Regions from separate parts of the Homo sapiens genome. Here region 1 is linked to region 2. The links are contacts of gene promoters, found by promoter capture Hi-C in blood cells and fetal thymus (Javierre and others, 2016). All regions are on one chromosome and are shown on one strand. Each heading gives the region's core, a stretch centred on a gene start or on the middle of the fragment in contact. The rest is flanking DNA. Distances are from core to core; before and after follow the strand shown.

Region 1 (3,977 bases), core at 147-2,646, 240 kb before region 2:
CCTCCCCCGGGTTCGCGCCGCGTCCCGGCTCCCCCCCCGCGCTGATCTTACCGCCCGACTACAGCCATCACCTCGCGGGCGGGCTGACAGCTGAAGCCACAGGGCCCCCGCTGCCCTCGGCGTCGCAAAGAGAGAGCTCCCCGGCACCCCTGAGACTGGGAGAAGCCGGCCCTCCCCGGTCTGCGGTCTCCGGGGATCACGCCGGGTTCCGAGAAAGCAGCTGCGCTGCTGCCGCTTGGAGGAGTGGGGCCACCCAGGGGACCCTCTCGGGCGAGACTTGGGAAGCCGCCTGAAACTCAAACAGCTCCGCAAGCCTCCAGTTCCACCCCACATCCCGCCTTATGAGGCGAGGACCCGGGCCGACCCGGCCTCAGTCCCTCACCTTGATTCTCCAGTGGCCTGAGCCAACTCTGGCGTCAGGAGAGTTCCTCCTTGCCCCAGCTGAGCGACAGGGCGCGGCCGGGGGCTTGGGGCTGCTGGGGTGGGGGGAGGCAGTGGGCGCAGGAACTGAAGCTGGACTCAGGTGAGGGGACGCGCTGGAGGCGGGGCCAGAACCTCATTACCATACAGCTGAGGACGCGCCCCCCTCCTACCTCCGGGACCACGCCCCGCCCTCCCCCACCTCAGGGACCGCGCGTCTGGGTCTCTGGCACGCGCCAAGCCCTGGCAGGGGGCAGAAGGGAGAAGGCACGCGCTGGGCACGCCCCCCCTTAGCTAGAGAGGGAGACGCCCAACAGGTGCACAGAGAGGGCCCCGAGCCTTAGACCCTTAGCCCCTAGCCTTGCTCAGAGTGGCCACAGAGAGGTTAACGCTTCTGCTGGCTTCCCTGCTGCGCTGGGGACGCGTGGTGGGTGGGCACTCATAGGTTGGGGGCCGTTGAGACAAGGGCTCCAGAAGCTCCAGGAAGGAAAAGGAGATCGGATTTCCCTAGCGCTGGTTTTTGCATTCCGGGCTTAAGTTCTTTTTACCTGCTTTGGAACACTAGGTAACTAGCGCCTGCTGCGGATGCACAGCCTACAGGGACTGCCTAGTGTCTCCGCCCCCAAGACCATCCCCGAACCACCCACTCACCTCCTGCCCCATTACCGGGCAACCCCTCTATCCTCCGGCGGCCAGGGTCTCAGCCCTTAACCCCGCCATCACGGAGGACTGGTCACCTCGGCACGCGCAGAGCTGGGGGACCTAGAGGTTGGGAGCGGCACGGAGGGGCGGGGACCTGCGCCCGACTGGCTGACGGGGAGGGGGGAGCGGCGGGGGCGGAGGCCCCCTCCGGGCGGCGCTGGGACTGTAGCAGCTAGAGGCCGGGAGGGGAGGGGAGAATGACCATGAGTCTGAGTGACAGGCGGCGAGGAGAGGAGCCAATATATATAAGGAAGGCCCCCAGCGCGCAGGTTTCAGTAGCGGCGCTGCGCGCAGGCCGGGAACACGAGGCCAAGAGCCGCAGCCCCAGCCGCCTTGGTGCAGCGTACACCGGCACTAGCCCGCTTGCAGCCCCAGGATTAGACAGAAGACGCGTCCTCGGCGCGGTCGCCGCCCAGCCGTAGTCACCTGGATTACCTACAGCGGCAGCTGCAGCGGAGCCAGCGAGAAGGCCAAAGGGGAGCAGCGTCCCGAGAGGAGCGCCTCTTTTCAGGGACCCCGCCGGCTGGCGGACGCGCGGGAAAGCGGCGTCGCGAACAGAGCCAGATTGAGGGCCCGCGGGTGGAGAGAGCGACGCCCGAGGGGATGGCGGCAGCGTCCCGGAGCGCCTCTGGCTGGGCGCTACTGCTGCTGGTGGCACTTTGGCAGCAGGTAACACGTCCCGCGCCCTCTCCGTCCCCTCTGCCGCGCTCTGGGCCTCAGCCCCGGGCACCAGCTGAGCTGACCGGTCCCCTCCCTCCTTCCCTCGGTCCCTGTGCAATAGCGCGCGGCCGGCTCCGGCGTCTTCCAGCTGCAGCTGCAGGAGTTCATCAACGAGCGCGGCGTACTGGCCAGTGGGCGGCCTTGCGAGCCCGGCTGCCGGACTTTCTTCCGCGTCTGCCTTAAGCACTTCCAGGCGGTCGTCTCGCCCGGACCCTGCACCTTCGGGACCGTCTCCACGCCGGTATTGGGCACCAACTCCTTCGCTGTCCGGGACGACAGTAGCGGCGGGGGGCGCAACCCTCTCCAACTGCCCTTCAATTTCACCTGGCCGGTGAGCACAGCCTGGGCGCACTGGGAGGTCGCAGAAGCCGAGAGAGGAGGCGCCCTGGGACCAAAGCCCCCTCCCCAGATTTCCTTGTACACACACCCCCACCCCCAAAAAGCCCAGGATGCATTCTTTCCTGGCTCTTCCCGACTCTCTCCTGAGACTGATCCCAGAAAAGGCTCTCACCAGTCTCCGTCTTCCCAGTTTATGTCCTCCCGTCCCCAGCTCTTGGGACACGATTTTCATTACCTACCACTCTGGGGCGGTACCCTACCACCCCCTCCTCCAGTGGCTCTCCCTTACACTCTCCCGTCTCTCAACCCTCCCTCTACCGGGGGTTCTCCTCTCGCCTTCCCTGCTCAAGCGCTACACTGTGCACAGCCCCGTTATGTTGACCCGGGCGCAGTAACTGAATCCTGCAATTAGATTAATTAAACAGGCTGCCGCAAGGCACCCCCACCTCTCCCCGCTTGCTCATCTCGCCATCTCTCCGTCCCCCCACCCCCTTTCCCAGGGTACCTTCTCGCTCATCATCGAAGCTTGGCACGCGCCAGGAGACGACCTGCGGCCAGGTGAGTAGCTCGCTCCGCCACCACAGGGGGGCGACACGGCGCAGCGCCGAAAGAGTTAATCTGTTCTAGGCGGGGGAAGTGCGGGCTTGGGGGTGGGAGGCAGGACGCTTAGCTTGGCCTGGAGCTGCGCCCCGCGCTGGACGCTCGGATTCCGCTCGCTGCCTGGACTCAGAGCACAATTGCGTTTCCTGCGGGTTATTTTTGGCGTGGGAACGCGGGGAGTACGGCGGTGAGAAAGGCTGAAGCTGCCAGCGCCGCTGACGGGCCCCTTCCTGTATTTTACACCTTTCGCGAATTCCGCTCCTTTGGAAAGGGAATAATGGCTTTGGGATGTTGTTCTGACACAGAGGAAAAGGATATTTCAGCAGCACAACAATTCTCACTTTGAAAAGGAAAAAAGAAAACCATTACCCACCTCTGGAGGCAGAACCCCTGAATGGGCACCAAAGGACCCCCTGCTCCCAGGGTCCTCTCTAGCCTGGGGAGCTTTTCTTTCTTTTTCTCTTTTTTCCATTTTGACCTCTTTTCCTCTTTCCCCTCCCTATCTGCCTCCAAGACCCTGGGATATCTTAACATCCTTCTATTGTCCCCTTTTTGAATACTATCAGGCCCCCTGCACATGCACACACGTAGGGCAGCTACGTAGCGGGGCTTTGGGTCCCTCTGGCCTGTTCTTGCTGGCAGGCGGGGGTCATCTGGATAACTGGGCTGATTGGTTGGCTGATCACCATCATCACAGCCAAGAAGGACATTGGCCAGCCGTCACTGGCACCCTTGGGGACTGGCGACCCTTCCCTGACCCGACCCTCTGCCCCCTCAGAGGCCTTGCCACCAGATGCACTCATCAGCAAGATCGCCATCCAGGGCTCCCTAGCTGTGGGTCAGAACTGGTTATTGGATGAGCAAACCAGCACCCTCACAAGGCTGCGCTACTCTTACCGGGTCATCTGCAGTGACAACTACTATGGAGACAACTGCTCCCGCCTGTGCAAGAAGCGCAATGACCACTTCGGCCACTATGTGTGCCAGCCAGATGGCAACTTGTCCTGCCTGCCCGGTTGGACTGGGGAATATTGCCAACAGCGTAAGCAGTCAAGCTCCCACCTGTGTGGAAGGGGAGGGTCCCCTGAGGAAACACAGTGGAGCTTCTTGGTCACAGCTTGCCTCCCTTGAAGAGTGGGTCTGGGCCTCCTACTAGCTGGGCCTCAGGGATGCTGAGGGTGGGCTTGACCTCAGAC
Region 2 (3,894 bases), core at 477-2,976:
GTTCGCCAGGATGGTCTTGATCTCCTGATCTCGTAATCCGCCCACCTCAGCCTCCCAAAGTGCTGAGATTACAGGCGTGAGCCACTACACCCGGGCTTTTACCTTTTTTTTTTTTTTTTGAAAAGGAGTTTTACTCTTGTTGCCCAGGCTGGAGTGCAATGGCGAGATCTCAGCTCACCACAACCTCCGCCTCCCGGGTTCAAGTGATTCTCCTGCCTCAGCCTCCTGAGTAGCTGGGATTACAGGCATGCACCACCACACCCAGCTAATTTTGTATTTTTAGTATAAAGACAGGGTTTCTTAGTGTTGGTCAGGCTGGTCTCAAACTCCAGACGTCAGGTGATCCACCCACCTCAGCCTCCCAAAGTGCTGGGATTACAGGCATCAGCCACAGCGCCCAGCCTTGCCCTATTTTAGGAGTGTGATCTTTCTCATTCCTTTTCTCTTACTCTCTATACTCAAACCTGGAAAATACTGTATATGCTCATCACTTCAAGGGCCATTTACATCTCCCAATCTCTCTAGCTCAGATCTTTCTCCTTCTCTATATTCACATATATCTGACTGTCTAGTAGACACATCCATGTAGGAATTCCAAATGTATTCTAAATGAGAAACATGTAAAATTCAACTATCAAATCACAGTTCTGCAAACTATCCTCTCAATATATTCTCTCTGTAAATGGCACCAACTTCCAAACAGATGCCCAAGTCAGAAACCTGGGAGCCAGCCAAGACTCCTTTCCACACTTTACCATCCATATTCAATTGGTCATTTGGTTCATTATGCTTCCTAAAATCCTGTATTTGTGTATTCCTCTCCATCCTACCAACTGTATCCCACTGTATCCCTCCCAAATTCAAGCATTCACATCTTCCACCTTAATCAATGCAAGAGTTTTCATACAAGTCTTCCTCATATTATTCTTGCTCCTTTTCAATCCATCCTACAGCTTAAACCAGGACGATCTATCATCTACATTTCTGGTTGCAGTGAGCTGAGATCACATCACTGCACTCCAGTCTGGGCGAAAATAGCGAAAGTCTGTTTCAGAAAAAATAATAATTATATATATATATATATATAATCTACATTTCCGATCATCTCACTTCCTTGTTCATAACTGGCACTCACTCTGCCAGTTGAGTTGTTCCTGCTAACTAGAGTTCTGCCATAGCCCTCTATCCTATTTCCAAGCTTAGTTTTTTAGCCTTCTAGTCAGTTCTGTGAGCCACTCATCTTTCCAGTAAATTCCCTTCTTGTTTATATTACCCAAGTGATATAGTTTGGCCCTGTGTCCCCACTCAGGGGTTGGAGGTGGGGCCTGGTGGGAGGTGACTGGATCATGGGGTGGTTTCTAATGGTTTAGCACCATCCGCCTAGTGCTGTCTTGTGATAGAGTTCTCCCAAGATCTGTTTTTTTGAAAGTGTGTAGCACTTCCCCTTTTGCTCTCTTCCTCCTGCTCCAGCAATGTAAGACATGCTTGCGTCCCCTTTGCTTTCCACCAGGATTGTAAGTTTCCTGAGGCCTCCCAAGATACAGACGTCTATACAGCCTGTACAATCCCGTACAGTCTTAGCTGGCTCCTGGGTTTCTGACTTGGGCATCTGTTTGGAAGTTGGTGCCATTTACAGAGAGAATACATTTAGTTTGAAGCATTATGATTTGATAATGATAACTTATAGAGAAAAGAGATTTAATTGGCTTCAGGCAACCAATTACTTAGTCTCAGGTATATCTTTTTTTTTTTTTTTTTTTGGAGATGGAGTCTTGCTCCTTCACCCAGGCTGGAGTGCCATGGTGTGATCTCAGTTCACTGCGACCTCCGCCTCCTGGATTCAAGCAGTTCTTCTGCCTCAGCCTCCTGAGTAACTGTGACTACAGGTGCGTGCCACCATGCCTGGCTAATTTTTGTATTTTTAGTAAAGACAGGGTTTCACCATGTTGGCCAGGCTGGTCTCAAACTCCTTACCTCAGGTGATCCGCCCACCTTGCCCTCCCAAAGTGTTGAGATTACAGGCGTGATCCACCGCACCCAGCCCAGGTATGTCTTTATAGCAGTGTGAGAACAGTGTGAGAAGGGACTAACACACCGAGTCAGTTGTTTTGCTTATGACCAAAAAACTGTAACAGATACATGGACCTTGTCTATTTCCTAGCCTTATCTCTCACTATCATACCGTATTTTTTCCCCTCTTTCAATGGTGAAATCCTCATAGTTCTCTTACTCAAAGTGCACCCTTTCCTCTGAAGAAAGCTTTTGACACGGATCTCAGTTCCAGGACAAGTGCTATCTCCTTTCCAGGGCTACTCTGCCTTTCCCAACATGCGTACAATGCACCAGTACACCTTGAACATAACTATTATTTCGGTTATAATTTTGTGTACATATCGCCCACTAGACTCGAAGTCCTTTGAGAGTAGGGATTGTGTGTTTTTTTCTCTGATTCCCCAATCTAGTCCAGTGCCTGGCTTCAAAACGGCCCTCCAAAATGTTTGCTAACGAATGCACAAAACAAATGAAGCCTGCGGGTGCGGTAGCTCACACCTGTAATCCCGGCACTTTGGGAAGGTAAGGTGGGTGGATCATTTGAGGTCAGGAGTTTGAGACCAGTCTGGCCAATATGGTGAAACCCCGTCTCTACTAAAAATATAAAAATTAGCTGGGCATGGTGGTGAGCGCCTGTAATCCCAGCTACTCAGGAGGCTGAGGCAGGAGAATCACCTGAACCTGGGAGGCAGAGGTTGCAGAGAGCCCAGATCGCACCACTGCACTCCAGCGTGGGTGACAGAGCAAGACTCCATCTCAAAAAACAAACAAACACACAAACAAAAAAACAAATGAAGCTTACCATGTGGGACACTGTATAAGGCAGCTTTACGGCCACGGCTCAGTGTTCTCTATTTTTGTTGTTGTTTTTGAGACGGAGTCTTGCTCAGTCGCCCAGGCTGGAGTGCAGTGGCGCGATCTCGGCTCACTGCAAGCTCCGCCTCCCGGGTTCACGCCATTCTCCCGCCTCAGCCTCCCGATTAGCTGGGACCACAGGCGCCCGCCACCACGCCTGGCTAATTTTTTGTATTTTTAGTAGAGACGGGGTTTCACCATGTTAGCCAGGATGGTCTCAATCTCCTGACCTCGTGATCCGCCCGCCTCAGCCTCCCAAAGTGCTGAGATTATAGGCGTGAGCCACCGTGCCCGGCCCAGTGTTCTCTATTTTAAAGGCAAGTATGAACACCTACTAGACGTACATGTAATATTTTCATTTATATATTTTTTCATTTAAGTGGGCCTTCTCAGAAGGAAGTGCTGAGGAGGAATTTCCTTTTCTCCACATAAAGATTTTGCTATTTCAATGGCATCCCAACAAGTTACACAATAAAAAATTTCTTTCCCTTAATTCCCTCATTCCTGGAACTTGCCATTTTGGCTCTTCCTAAGGAATGTTTTCATTAGAATTTGTTTCCATTACAAAGTTCTTATTTAAAATACTCAGGGTTTAGCCATCAGGTGCCTTTCAAGTTATAAACAATAATGTACTTGGGGAATTGGAGAATTCCAGAATGTGGAAGTGTCTCATCCTAATTAGACAGGCTACTATTGCAATATGGAGAGATCAACAGCAAGAGGCTGAAGTTACTGGCCCTCTGGTTTCTCTGGCTTGCATTGCAATTAAATGCCTTCGATCAACTCTTCCAAATCTACTAGTTTACACTCTGGTTCATTTGGGAAAAAGAGGAACAAAAATTTCTTTTTTGTCCAGGTGCAGTGTCTCACGCCTGTAATCCCAGCACTATGGGAGGTCAAGGCGGGCAGATCACCTGAGGTCAGAAGTTCAAGCCTGGCCAACACAGTGAAACACCGTCTCTTAATAAAAATACAAAAATTAGCCAG

Evidence for each region. Contacts are between HindIII fragments. The CHiCAGO score rates a contact against its expected background, and 5 or more counts as called.
Region 1: a contact is called between the fragment with the promoter of DLL4 here and a fragment that was not itself captured in region 2, in 11 of 17 cell types (erythroblasts, M1 macrophages, endothelial precursors and 8 more). The highest score is 8.3, in erythroblasts.

Annotation. Positions count from the first base shown.
Region 1 is chr15:40,927,944-40,931,920 of GRCh38, forward strand. DLL4 (delta like canonical Notch ligand 4) reads left to right here and starts at 1,397. Exons shown (of 11, transcript NM_019074.4): 1 at 1,397-1,791; 2 at 1,904-2,173; 3 at 2,682-2,739; 4 at 3,560-3,823. The coding sequence starts at 1,726. RefSeq lists silencers at 539-608, 1,202-1,291. The HindIII fragment of the contact is 7,449 bases long and covers 1-2,704 here.
Region 2 is chr15:41,168,584-41,172,477 of GRCh38, forward strand. No RefSeq gene overlaps it. Among named protein-coding and RNA genes, the nearest start is that of INO80, 54 kb to the left of the region's middle. The HindIII fragment of the contact is 1,061 bases long and covers 1,197-2,257 here.